2 separate regions of the Homo sapiens genome follow, and region 1 is linked to region 2. The links are contacts of gene promoters, found by promoter capture Hi-C in blood cells and fetal thymus (Javierre and others, 2016). All regions are on one chromosome and are shown on one strand. The core of a region is centred on a gene start or on the middle of the fragment in contact, and the rest is flanking DNA. Distances in the headings are between cores, read along the strand shown.

Region 1 (6,905 bases), core at 3,083-5,582, 1.2 Mb before region 2:
AAGTACTGCAATTCTGATTATTTCACATGAACAAGATCATTTTCATAATTTTCCTACATAAGAAAAAATATTATTGTGAAAATCAGAACTAAATATCATGTCCTAAGAAGGAAAAATGCACTGAAAAATAAAATCTCTAACCTTTAATATTTATTGCAAACCAACCACTGAGGAATCTAAATTTCTCAAAGCCCATGATATTATTATTTTTTCTAATCCCAGGAAAAAATACACCAAAACATTCACAGAAATTGTTGGTAAAGAGTTTAATGCATTTTAATGTGTATAAGCCATCTAGATAACTTCAGGAATTACAGTGGAAAGACTTACTTTGGTGAGCAAACTGATAACCCAATACCCTCTTGGGAATTTATTTCAAAGTAATATTGAATAGATCTTCTCACAAACCACCAGCCACCATATTTGAAAATCACCACGTACTGAGATGACAGTATTACTGACAGTCTTTATACTGCCATCGAAAAGTAACTATTTTTCTATATTCTGGAATCCAATATAAATCATTACTCTGTTTTTATAAGTAACAAGAGAGGGAGGAGCTATTACTGATTTAACACTTGTAGCCCATATTTATTTCATTTGATTTGGAACCTTTCTCTTTTTTCAATGCTTTGCTATTTTAAAATGTGCCCATTTTCACCATTTACTGTGGCTCCTAAACGGGTAAAGAAGAAAATTTAAACTAAACAAATAACTAATCCTGCTTTAGAAATCAAGATCTGCTAGGGAAGAAAAACTCCCTAATCCGTACAGAGGATCATCTCTATTACAAAAGTCCATTAGCAGAATGGTACATGTTCCCTCTTTATTTCCACCCACCACTCCTGCCTAACAAATATAATAAGAAACAGAAAACAGGACACATTTCTATTTCTATAAAGAGAAAATACCGGGTCCCGAAAGCTGTCAATAAAAAACAATATCCAAGATCCCCCTCTACTACATAGTCAACTCGAGACTGAAATGTTTTTAACAAGGACTTTGGATAGAATTAAATACGCCCAAATAAACGAAACTAAATGTTGCATTTATTTCTATACGTGAATGTTATTTTAGCAAGTCAGTGGCAAGCTGGTCATGTATAAAGGCACTGACGAAACAAATTTAATACATGGAAAATCAAAGAGAAAAAAATTTCAAAACCTTATCACTTTGAACCCTTCTAAAGTAAAAGAGCACATGATAGTTATCAATACAAATAGGTACTTTACACTACACTTTAGCACCACACACTAAACCAACATCAAAACAAAACTTTAAAATATTCATCTTCTTTGCAAGTACTTGCAATTACTCACACCTGCCAAATCACTATATCATACAAACACGAAGTAAAATGGAGCCTTCTCTCCTGATCTAGAGAATACCTTTATAATGTTGCCTAATTTATCCTGTTCCAGATTTATTGTCAAACAGGGCTAATCAGCATATCCTAAAGTACAGGGGAGCTCAATATTCTCTTGAAAACAAAATAATACCAAATAATCCTAGAAAATAAGCAGGAGAGCTGAAAGCAGAAAAAACCGAAAGGTTTAACACACCCAAAGCCAAATACATAAACTTCCTATACTGTTTTATCTTCCATGCAAGATTTTAAAATGTCCTCCTTGAACTTTGAAAAGAACTGGGAAAGTAATATCCAACATGATGTGTCTGCAGGTAACATAAACTAAATGTGACTCAAAGATGTTTTACACAGTAAAACAGCTAAAAACAAACCAAAAAAAAAAAAGGCATTTCTTTCCAAAAACCACAAGAGGTGCAACAAATGCTAACCAAAAAGGAGACCTCAATGAGTTCATTAAATGACCTTCTCAGGCTTAGAAGCAGCAATCCGTAATTATGAAAACAGTAATGTCTTGTAGAAGTATAATGCTGTACAGTTTACCATTCAAATTTGTGGGTTAGAAAACACAGGGGGCTTCATTCTACACTTTCCTGAAAATACGGGATTTTAGTTTTGAATATGAAGAAACCAAACAAATCGTCCTGAATAAGAAAAATGTAGGTTTTTACAGTCACAGCTAATCTCTGAAGAACTATGTCAAATAAGAGAAATGAAAAATGTGATTTTTTATTTCTCTTATTTGAGTTCTTCAAAAATACACCTCCTAAACTTTTTTTTAAAAAGACAAAGAAAAAACAAGAATGACACGTGACCCAACTTAAAACTATTCAGTACAATACTTCTACACCTTCCCCCTAAAAAAGAAAAACAAAAATCATCATTCACCATTATCTCCTTTCTTTCTCCCAACCAGTTAAAAAAAAAAATTCTACCATCAACTAAAACTGATCTTAAGAAAAGTAAATTTTCGGGCTGTCCATCGGTTAGGATGGTAGGCCTCACTGAAAATGTTAAGAGCACAAAGCTAGAGCCTAAAATTCTAAGTAAAAGCCCAGAACTGAGATACCAGGAAAGAGAACGCATTTCTTACATAAGCAATGGCACATGTTTTAAATATAGCTGGTCCTCCCCACTCCCACTCCTTGCTAGCTAACTTTGTATGTACCTGATCTCCACATAAACTACTAGCAATTCTGTGGTTTCTCATCATCTCCCAAACCGCAAAGACAGGGAGTCTACTCTGAATACAAAGGCCATCTTTCAACTTAAGGAACAGAGAGAGGAAATAAAACTGCTACCTCTGCCATCGGCCGCTCAGCCTGGGTCACGACTGCAGCACCGACAGCTCATTCTTTTGGGCATGATTCAAGATTCAGTAAAACTGCACACTCCGTATTTTAAAAAATAAAAAGACACACAGTCCTCTCCTTCCCTTTCAGACTAGTTTCCTCTTTACTGCAGACTGCGACGCAAGGCCATCCACTAATCTTTGATGCCTGCTCACTGCACAGGCCCCTTCCTCTCTCCCCGCACCTCCTCCCACAACGCCTGCAGATCTCAGATGCGTTTGAACTACAGTAACCCCAACCCAGCTCGCGGCAAGCAGGCAGCGCAGCAGCAGTAGCAGCAGCAACCGGGCCGCCGCCGCCGCGGGGCTAAGAGATTACGTTCAGCAAAAACTCTTCCAGGAAAGAGGCTCGAGAGCTCCCCTCCTATCTCGCCAAGGGTGCTGACTCTGTCGCGCCACGCCACGTACCAAAAGGCTCGCGAAGAAAAACGCGGGCGAAGTTCAGCATCCCCGAACAGAAAGGGAACTCATTCCAGAAAGGGGGTTCACGGGTCTGAGGGTCCTTGGGTGGGGAAAGCAGTATTGGAGGGAGAAGACAGAAGGGATGGCAAGACAGAGGAAACCACGGGGACAAAAAGGAAGGGATGAGGAGCCCTCTTACTATAAAAGGGACTGACGGACGGGATGCAGAGCAATGGGCCCCCCTCGAAAAATGGACTGGCAGGCCCTTCCGCACCCCCAAACAACCTCGCACCACCTGAAAGCGGGGAGCTTGAGTTTGGGGCTGCGTAGATCAAAGCAGGGTAAGACGAAGGGAAAGAGGGAGGGGAGCTTGGAAGCAAAGTGAACAAAGAGGCAAAAGAGGCAAAGTTGGAAATGGAAACGAGAAAGGGAGCTGGAAAGGGGCCGCTCTGGAAGGGTCTTGAAAAAGGCCTAGAAATGGGATGCTGGGGAGGCAAAGGGGGACAGCCCCGAGGAAGGGCATCTCAGGAATGTAAGGGAGCGCTCCAGGCCCTGGGAAGAGGAAGGGATGGGAGGGCGGGGAGGCAGCCGAGGCCCGGGAGCTGGAACAGAGGGGGCTTTGCGCGGGGCCCAGGAGGGGAGAGCAGGGTCGGAGGGAGGCGACCACCGCGGGAAGAGCTAGAGGATGGGAGGGAGGGGTGCTGCGGCTGAAGAGGGGATGTGGACTCCTCCAATGCTAGGGAGAAGAGGGAGGTGAAGCGAGATAAAAGGAAAGGGGCGAACAGGGAGAAGAGGAAGGAGCCTGCGACGCGATGGGGGAGGGGAGGGAGGCCGTGGGAAGCGGCCGGGGGGCGCGGGGATGGGAAGGGGCCGGGCGGGCGGCGTGGTCACCTCAGGCTGCGGACTCCCTCCCTGGGGAGCGGCGCTGCCGGCGGGCGGGCTCCGCAACTCCCCGGCTCTCTCGCCCGCCCTCCCGTTCTCCTCGGGCGGCGGCGGGGGCCGGTACGGCACGGCTCACAGCGGCGGCTCTTCTGCGCCGAGCCTCGGATGTTGCTTCTGGGGAGGCGGAGGCAGCGGCAGCGGCAGCGGCCCGGCCCGTACGGTCACCATCGTCCGCGGCAGCAGGCGCTCGCGGGCCGAGCCCCTTAGCAGCCGGCGCCGGCGTCGGCGGCCATGGCCTCCTGCGTTTGCTCCTCCCGCCCCCGGCGCTCTGCGGCGGCCGCGGCCCGACTTCCGCACTCTGCGCCTGCGCGCGGCCCAGCCAGCGCGGCGCGCCCCTCCCGCGCGCGCCCGCGCTCACTCACAATCGCGCCCGCGGAGTGCTTTCCGCACCGCCTCCGGTGCGTGGGCGGGAGACATAAGCCTAGCCAAGCCCATACAGCCCGGCTCGGGTGGCTATGGAGAGGCGTACTGCAGAGACACCTGGACGCGCACTGTGACAGGCGCCATTCTGACACACGTGCTCTCTCACTCCCAAACACCACGGGCCGCAAGCGCTCACACCCACACTCACCTGCAGGGACCACGTGGGAGAATTTGAAGGGCTGATCCTGTCCCGGTGCATTCGCAGTAGCAATGATGCGAGAATTCGTTTTAACCTCGTCACTGACTGGACTAGACTGTAAACTCCTTGGCGTCTGGGATGGCTCAGCCGTGCCCAGCACCAAGTGCAGGCACTCAAACCCCTGTGGAGTAAGTGACTGGATGAATGAATGCATTGGAACTGTTCACTGAGTATCTGTAACAATTTTGATCCCATGGTTTGGTACAAAGAATTTTATTGCAGTATGAAATTAAATGGTGTTTGTGTGTTTGTCTTGTCTTGGTCTAAGGTTCAAAACAGGCTAATGTATGTTTTCCCCTCCCCAACGTAGAGGAGTTCCACTTTGTCTCTGTGCCAGTCTCTATCACAGAATGCGCAATCCTACCCTAATTTAAATGTCCACACCTTTTAGGGCAGGAACTGTTGCCCAGAATACATAGCCTGAAGCATATTGTGTGTTTACACAACGATAGTCTTCTGGGCTTGGCAAGACTTCTCATTCCCCATTTGTCTGCCACTCTGCCTCACCACGACCTTCTGCAACCCCCACTTCTATCTCCCCTGCCTTCCACCATCACCAAAACCCCTCCACTGTTTCTTGCTTTCTCTTTCGTTAGTTCCTGGGGAGCCAGTTGCTATGAGCACCTAGCCTGGCCTTAGATGTTGAAAGGGCCAGTGTACACAGAAGATACACACCCAGTGATGGGTAAGATGTTGCAACTATACTGGGTCATGCTGAAATTGTGAAGCCTCAACTTCTTCATGTGCAAGAGAAATTAATGTACTGTAATCTCGATGTCTGTGTTGAGGACCCTCCTTGTAAATTCAAGTCTCTGGCCTCTGCCCTTTGAATGGTAAACCCCCAATTCTGAACACTCTTGTATCCTGCTGAAATTGTGAAAGCAAGCTCTGTATTTAGAAAATGCAATCCCTGGAGGTATCAGTCAACCAAACTCTGAGTAACTTGCCTTCCATTAGTTTGATAGCTCTGTAGGAATCAAGTGTTTAAAATGTGTGGGAATTGTGTACATAACTCACTATAACCACCTTTCATCCAGGTGCCTCAGACTACTTCACCATAGTCATAAATCCTGTCACATCCCAGTGATGCAGTTCATGAGTCTCTTAATCTAGCCTGGTAAGTAAAAAAATTACAGAGGTCACATGAATAATGACTGGAATAGGAAATGGACCAAGATAGCAAGGCCTTATCTTGATCCCCTCCCTGTTTTAACAACTTTACATCTGACTGAGTCAAGAAAACCTAAGGCCAGAAACAGATTACAAAGAAGTCAAAATGAACGTAACACTAAATTCTAACTTTATTTATTTATTATTCTTGGATAAATGGCAGAATCCTGAAAATGTGATTCTAAAAGGAAGTATGGTTGCTGGATTTGCGTGGTTTTTGTTTGTTTGTTTGTTTGTTTTTTGAGACGGAGTCCACTCTTGTTGCCCAGGCTGGAGTGCAGTGGCGTGATCTTGGCTCATCGCAACCTCCGCCTCCTGGGTTCGAGCAATTCTCCTGCCTCAGCCTCCCAAGTAGCTGGGATTACAGGCATGCACCACCACACCTGGCTAATTTTGTATTTTTAGTAGAGATGGGGTTTCTTCATGTTGGTCAGGCTGGTCTCTAACTGGATTTGTGTTTTAAATGGAGGAGAGGCCTACTTCAGCTCTTACCTTTCCTTTTTTTAAAGTGGAGAAAATGGCTTCAAAGCCCTGTAACCCTCACTGGAAGTATTCTGGACTTGTAAAAGCAGGAAAAAGTCACATGTCTTTTTACCTTTTAACTTAATAGCAGCTGCCTGTAAATGCTGAAGTTCAAAACAAGTAAAGAAAATTACTCTGGTAATGAAAGGGTTACTGCTATTATAGTGCTGCTAATCCAGTTATGGGAAAGCTCCACATTGCCAGAAGCAGGTAATTAAACAGAACTAAAAAGCAACGCAAAAGAAAAAAGAAGTGGGGGTGGGGCGGGTGAATCGAGAGCAGCTCAAATAAAAGAGCTCAATCAAGTGTAGAGGAAGTACTTTCTAGAGGCACCCAAACCCACCCAAATCAGGAAAAGCCAGGAGCTAAATTTGTCCTTAAGTACCTGGAAGAAACATAAGGAAATGTCTAAATGCCACAGCTTGGTCATAAAAGGAACTTACCCAGGGTGCTAGAAGGAAAGAAGTGGTATGTTTATGACTGCCCAATGGCAGACCATTCAGGATTCGAAAGGTTATCTTCCTTCCTGT
Region 2 (7,117 bases), core at 2,352-4,851:
TTGGCCAGATGCAGTGGCTCACGCCTGTAATCCCAGCACTTTGGGAGGCAAGGCGGGCGGATCACCTGAGGTCACGAGTTCAAGACCAGCCTGGCCAACATGGTGAAACCCCGTCTGTACTAAAAATACAAAAATTATCCGGGTGTGGTGGGCGCACCTGTAATCCCAGCTGCTTGGGAGACTGAGGCAGGAGAATCGCTTGAACCCAGGAGGCAGAGGTTGCAGTGAACGGAGATTGTGCCACTGCACTGCAGCCTAGGTGAAAGAGTGAGACTCTGTCTCAAAAAAAAAATATTCATTTTTTAATTTTTGACAAAATTTTAACGTTTTATATTCTGCCATTGGCAACAAAGGCTGTCAGTTTTCCTTGAGGTGATAGACTTCTTTCATTCCTTTAAGAAAAAGTGTGACAAGCACCCAGGTCTGAGTGACCATGGGATTTCTTGCAGTTGTTAATTCAAGTAAAAACAGTATTCCAGGAAAATGTTCTCTAGTTTTAGCTTGCAACTCATATAGTTGCACAAATCCTTTTAATCGTATTTTGGTGTACAGTGGAAGTGCTTTATGGCATACTTCTCATTTTATCACACAGAACATTAAAAAGACATCTCAAGGATGGAGAGCTAATAAAATTAATACTTTCTACTGCATATGGTGAAGTGACAGTAAGTGAAACTGGCATTTTTAAACTACAAGCGAAGAAGGATGCAGAACAGAGAGACTGCTAATATGGTTTACTGTCACTGCCTTGATTTGTGTTGAGGCACCAGCAGCTTTCTCCACCGCTGCCTTGGTACCATCATTACAAATGTCAACCCAGTGGAAAAAGGTGTGAATATTGTCTTGAAAATAGTTTTGACCTCATGGACCCCCTCAAAGGGTCTCAGACCACAAGGGATCTACAGCCCACACTAAGAACTGCTGCCCTGACAAAAACGCTTTCTCTCTGTAACAGACTTTGAGAGTTTTGACCTGCCTGAAGAGCACCAGATTGCGCACCTCCCCTTGAGTGGAGTGCCTCTCATGATCCTTGACGAGGAGAGAGAGCTTGAAAAGCTGTTTCAGCTGGGCCCCCCTTCACCTGTGAAGATGCCCTCTCCACCATGGGAATCCAGTAAGTGAGCAAGTGCCCTTCTGGAAGGGCTGCAAACAATTTGTTTCATAACACTTCCATTACCATGGGAAGAGTTGTGCGGGAGGTGAGCCTGTGAGTAATTTCTGTCCTTCAAATGACAAGGATTAGTTTTCAGAAAAATAAACTATTCTCGATTAATATTGCTTTTCAGTCCCAAATGCCCCAGTAAAATTGTTATTCTGGAAACTGGATAGTCTTACTACAGCCAAAAGATTAATTCTCACTTACATCTTCTTAGGCTATAAGTTGAAGCATATATAATAAACTTGCTTGGAATGATGATTCCATGTTATATCCAAAGCTAATATAAGATCAAAACACCTGTGCTGTAGCATAGACTGACAATAACTTCTTACTGCAGAAGGTCTGAGGTCTTCGTTTGAACTGGTAGTCAAAGCCAACATTATGTTTTCTGTTTGTTCTGATGTGGGATAATTTGTCCTAATAAGTTACATTAGTGAGACTGTTAACTCTTACTTTGGTCTCTAAGAACAATAGAGATTCAGATACTTCTAAAACTTACTTCCTAATGAAAGTCAATTCTGGGGCCACAGACACATTCCAAAAAATGTGTCAGGAGGGGATGCAGGTGATTGATTTGACAAAGGGAAAAACATGAATTTTTGATTGACAGCTAATGTCTATGTTGATATGGACAATGACTCAAGGATTTGCAGAAATTTTAATAAGAGATTCCTGTTTTCTAGATCTGTTGCAGTCTCCTTCAAGCATTCTGTCGACCCTGGATGTTGAATTGCCACCTGTTTGCTGTGACATAGATATTTAAATTTCTTAGTGCTTCAGAGTTTGTGTGTATTTGTATTAATAAAGCATTCTTTAACAGATTCTTCCTAGTATTGTGGTTGCTTTTCCATGGAGGTTACTTAAAATAACATGAAAGCTAGCTGAGGTGTTTAACAAAGAGTCTATAATGTGACAATAGAGATTTGTCTGATGTCTAAAAACTTAAATCTTTTTGGTTTAACAGCTTATTTTAGAAGCTGCCACTGTTTTTTCCTGAAAAGTATACCCCTCAATGTGTACTTTATTGACTTTTTGTGGCCATTAACTAGTGACAGTTATTAGATCTCTTAATTAGAAGAGCTACTTCCAACTCATTAAGTATCTATTGCTGGGCATTCTTTATTGCCGGTTCTACTTAGTTTCTAATGACTTTAATACTCAGTATTGAAAGGCTCTAAATCTGAGAATTCAGCCTCCTTGGGATCTTCAATTAGATTCCTTAAAGATCACTGGAGATAATTTACTGATAGTAAGGTCTACACTCCACCTATAGGAAACTGTATTTAGTTGTTTACCTTGTGTTGGACATGAGTATTTGAGAAGCATTATTATGTTTAATGTTTGACACTTTCCCAGGTAAGACAATGAAGCGCAGAAGTTCATTGATTTGTCAAAGATGTGAAGAGCTAGAAAATTATTAGAGCTGGTATTTTGATCTCAGTTCTGAGGTTGGAATCAAAATAGAGATGGCAAATGGTTGCTCATAGGTTTTCTTTTTGAGGGAGGGGGTGGATATTTTAAAAACCTTAATCATTTCCACTATTTAAAATTCCAGTGTTTCACCAATCTGGCTTTGGAGATTCTCTTGAAAAGAGATGTGTCCATAGTAGACCCTGTTTCCAACACTTGCTGGGGCTGGAGGTAGATTGCAGGCTGCTGCCTTTTAGGTGGAGTATAGGCTTTCTATCCCACAGACCCTGCCTTAAATGGCCTCAGTGAGAACTGAAGTGATCCTTTTACCTTTCATGTCTCTTCTGAGACCTAGCCTACTTAACTCACTTTACTCGCTTGGGCCATGTAGTAACCTGAATTTGACCCTTGCTTGATGCTAAGTTATATAAGAAGTCTTTCCCTTGATATATCAGTAGCTTCTATGGTCAAGTTAGAATGTGAACACTTTGCCATTGTCATTGGAGGAAGCTGAAGGATATTAGGCATGAAATACTAAGAACACCTACAACCGCTTATCCTGACTTTAAAACTTTTTACCTTCTAAATACAACTGAATCAGTGTGACTTTCTGGAATTAGTGGAAAGGCAGACTTCTAGGAGAAGATAATACCATAAGACTACTAGGGCACTTGGCTTTAGGGGAGAGTAATAGGTTTAGCATCCTCAGGTAAAATAGGGCTGCTAAGAAAACCAAAGTATAGGTTGGACACAGTGGCTCACACCAGTAATCCCAGCACTTGAGAGTTTGAGGTGGGAGGACTGCTTGATCCCAGGAGCTTGGGTTCAACCTGGGCCATGTAGTGAGACCCTTGTCTCTCAAAAATTAAAAATAATTAGCCGGGTGTGGTGGCGCATGCCTGTAGTCCTAGTTTCAGGAGGTTGAGGCAGGAGGATTGCTTGAGCCCAGGAGTTCAAGCTTACAACTTGAGTGGCTATAGTCATGCCACTGGGTGGTAAAGTGGGTGGTAGAGTAGCCTGGGTGGTAGAGTGAGATGCTGTCTCACAAAAACAACAAAAAAAGCAAAGTGTAGTTCTGAATGGCTTTCATACTCTGCAACACAAACTGAAGCTTTGGAAAATTGTCTTTTGTGGTAGAGGGAACCAAGGGCTGGGAGCAAGGGGACTAGTCAGTCCCTTACCAGTTAATTGCCGTCCTCTGGGTCAGAACTGAGTATAGAGGGATCTGATCTTTTCATCTGCTGTTAATCAGATTGCAATGTGCATAATGTGTGCTGAGACTGAGAACTTTAAGCAGATGCTCCTCCATTAATACAGATAATTTGCATCTTGTGGGGGTTGTTGCTATTTTGTTCTGACACTTTTTGAAATAAGACAGACTTTATTCATACCTTTACAACTCTGTAAACCTTCTGCATTTCTCTACACTACCTCTGAGCCTGCCTCTCAGGATACTGTACCTTCTTATAGTAGGAGCTAACAGTCAGGAATGCCATTATCTTGCTACCATTTCTTCTTTCTTATTACAAGTTGTATTTTTCTACTTTCCATGCCAGCCATGGATTTTACCTTTTTTCATGCTGGGTATTTTTACATTTCTATTAATATTCTTAAACTTTGTTCTAGAGTATGGGTAAGGTACCTAGAAGCAATTTGATTCATTTGAGACTTGCCTTTAATGTTAGGCATCACCAGAGCAGCATTTAGCCCAGGGCTCATTTCCCCCTACTACTGAAGTGTGAGATGCTTAGGACTCTGCTGCCCCCTGAATTATGAGGTTTTCCTGTCTAGCTGGTGGGAGCAGACACTATTCCCAGCCCTGTGTGGGCTTCAGGAATTCTTCCCTCTGATCTTTTCAGCTATATGGATCAGTGCTCTTCTGAATACTACAGGGAGACCCTCTGCAAATTTCCAGGGTTCTCTCTGTGCAGCTCTCTCCTCTCCAGTGCTCTGCTCTGCAAACTTGGCCTGCCTTGGCCTGACTCTGCTCTGTCTCTTCAACTCAGGAAATTCACTGGGCTCTGCCTGCCTCCCTTTCTTCCCCACTCTGAGGCCTGGAAACTCAAAAGTAGCCAGTAAGGATAGTCATCGGCCTCACCTCACTTATTTCACATTCCTCAGGCATCGCTGTTCTCTGTCGCCTGATGTTCACTCTTTGGGCAGCCCTCATTTCATATATTTTGTCTTGTTTTTTAGTTTCAGGCAGGAGAGTAAATCTGGTCCCTGTTACTCCATCTTGATTGGAATTGAAAGTTCCTTCTAGATATTCCTTTCATTTTTTTTCTTTTTTGAGACGGAGTCTTGCTCTGTCGCCCAGGCTGGAGTGCAGTGGTGCAATCTTGGCTCACTGCAAACTCCACCTCCCGGGTTCATGCCATTCTCCTGCCTCAGCCTCCCGAGTAGCTGGGACTACAGGCGCCCACCACCACGCCCAGCTAATTTTTTTTTTTTTTGTATTTTTAGTAGAGACAGGGTTTCACCGTGTTCGCCAGGATGGTCTCGATCTCCTGACCTCGTGATCTGCCGGCCTTGGCCTCCCAAAGTGCTTGGATTACAGGCGTGAGCCACCATGCCCGGCCTTTTTTTTTTTTTTGAGGTAACATTCACATAAGAAAATTCATTTAAAAATGTACAATTCAGTGGCTTTTAGTTCAGAGTATATGCAACTATCACCACTGTCTAATTTCAGAACACTTTCATCACCCCCAAAAATAAACCCATGCTCATCAAGCACTCATTCCCCACTTCATTTACTTTGGAATGATGTCCCTCTGCCACCAGGATGAAGTCTGAGTTGCTCAGTGTGGCTCACACGGCCTTGTGGTGGCTCCTTGGGGGTGTAATTTCCTGTCCTGATTCACCTGGCCAAACCTGTCCATCTCTAGTACTCCAATGAGATGCTTTTCTTACCAGAAGCCTTTGCACTTACCATGCTCGGCTGTGTCTGGTCCTCTCCTCCGCTCTACTGGGAGCAGGATGAGGTGTGTCCTGTGCACTGGTGTATTCTCTGCCTGGCATGTGGCAGGTGCTTCAGGGACTTGCTGAAATGAGTAAAGATGTCATCAGTCCCTGGGGATCCAGGTTTCTAGAGACCCAGCGACTGCACTGTACCCACTGTTAGCATCACACGGTATCAGGGCCAGGGAGCCTGACTTCAAGGTTTCCAGAGAGAGAGTGGTGGGGGCAGGCACAGGTCTAGGAGGTCAGCTTCTCCTACCCTAGACAGTTCCTGGTCACCTGTCTGTCTGTGCCCCACCAAGCCCAGGTATAACCTGTTTACTGAGAAGCTCCAGCTCTGCTGGGGAAACATAAACTGAGTTTCTTTCTTTTTTTATTGCCACCAACTGTGTTTTGTTGACCTGTTCTCCTTTCCTCCTTTCTGGGTGGTGGGTGATGCTGAGCAGCATTCAGACAGATTTCATAGCTTTCCAGTTACTTTTGGTTAAAATTAAACTTTGCTTATTTTAAAACTTGAGGTTCACACCTATTTCAGGCTCTTCTCCCTCTCCCCTAGTACAGGCGAGGGCTTGGCAAAAGCCCATGTGTATGCTCTGCTCACCACACATGTCCCTTCTCCCCTTCCGGTGTTATGACCCTCATAGGGGCTTAGTCCAGCCCCAAGCCTGGGAGGACGGCTGGAGGGAGAAAAGAGTCTGCTCGTGTGACAGGCCACTTGTTGGTTATGGGAAGTGTGCTGGCTTCGTTCTGGCTGTTGTGCTCTGCACGATGCTGGTGGCCTCTGCTCATGGGGAGGTCCTTGTGTAGAGAATCACCCTCTTCTCCACGGCTGAAAACCCTGTCCCTCCTGAGAATGGCAGCCTGCCTCTCTTCCCACACCTTTCCCAGGTGGGCCCTTCTATTCCTTGGTCCAGGGGCTGTCCAAGGCCTCTGCCCTTCCATGATTAACCACTGGGATCTTTTCCATCCCCTTTGAGGGCTGCAGAACCAGGATGGGGTGAAGGTTTCCCTGCAGGCCTGGGTACTCCAGCAGGTCCCCACCGTGAGAAATCTCTGGACCAGGAGCAGGTGCCAATCTTTAAGTTGCAGTGAGTCTCTACATGCCGATGATCCTCTCCTCCCCGCAGTGCAGTGAGAAGGCTGAAAAGGACAATAAATACTCCCAGAATGCTCTCTCAAGAGCCCTCTCTCTCACCAGTCTTGGTTCTGTTGGTGGCACCAGCATAGGCTTACCTATTTCTCCTGCAACTCAGCTGGTGTGTGTCTGGGGGTGAGAGGCCATTCTCCCCTTCCTGAAGATTCCTATCTTTATGTGTTCATTTAAAGCTTTTCATGACTGCAGGTAGGAGAGGAACACCTCTCCCACCACGGACACAGCTTTTCTCTGCAGACATCCCCAAAGCGGGCCACCTCATCTATCAGGCCTCTTTCTGCTCCTGATGGTTGATGCTCCTAGGACTGGCATCTCTTGGCAAGCCCAGAGCTAACTTTAGAATATGCTACACTCAGTGGCTTTTGGGGACTTTAGCTGCATGTTTTCAAGCAACAGGAACAATCAAACAGCAGATCTGTCTCTCCTTTCCAGCCAGA

What was found. Contacts are between HindIII fragments. The CHiCAGO score rates a contact against its expected background, and 5 or more counts as called.
Region 1: a contact is called between the fragment with the promoter of RNF145 here and a fragment that was not itself captured in region 2, in 1 of 17 cell types (total CD8 T cells). The highest score is 6.1, in total CD8 T cells.

Annotation. Positions count from the first base shown.
Region 1 is chr5:159,205,221-159,212,125 of GRCh38, forward strand. RNF145 (ring finger protein 145) reads right to left here and starts at 4,333. Exons shown (of 11, transcript NM_001199383.2): 1 at 4,011-4,333. It overlaps LOC107986468 (a long non-coding RNA gene), which reads left to right and starts at 2,807. Exons shown (of 2, transcript XR_001742943.2): 1 at 2,807-3,460; 2 at 4,639-4,932. RefSeq lists enhancers at 2,444-3,099, 2,699-2,748, 2,839-2,888, 2,999-3,118, 4,706-4,805 and silencers at 4,016-4,205, 4,246-4,535. The HindIII fragment of the contact is 10,196 bases long and covers 1-6,905 here.
Region 2 is chr5:160,426,760-160,433,876 of GRCh38, forward strand. PTTG1 (PTTG1 regulator of sister chromatid separation, securin) reads left to right here. Exons shown (of 6, transcript NM_004219.4): 5 at 956-1,114; 6 at 1,843-1,980. The coding sequence ends at 1,922. Among named protein-coding and RNA genes, the nearest start is that of PTTG1, 8.5 kb to the left of the region's middle. RefSeq lists an enhancer at 5,671-5,760. The HindIII fragment of the contact is 153 bases long and covers 3,526-3,678 here.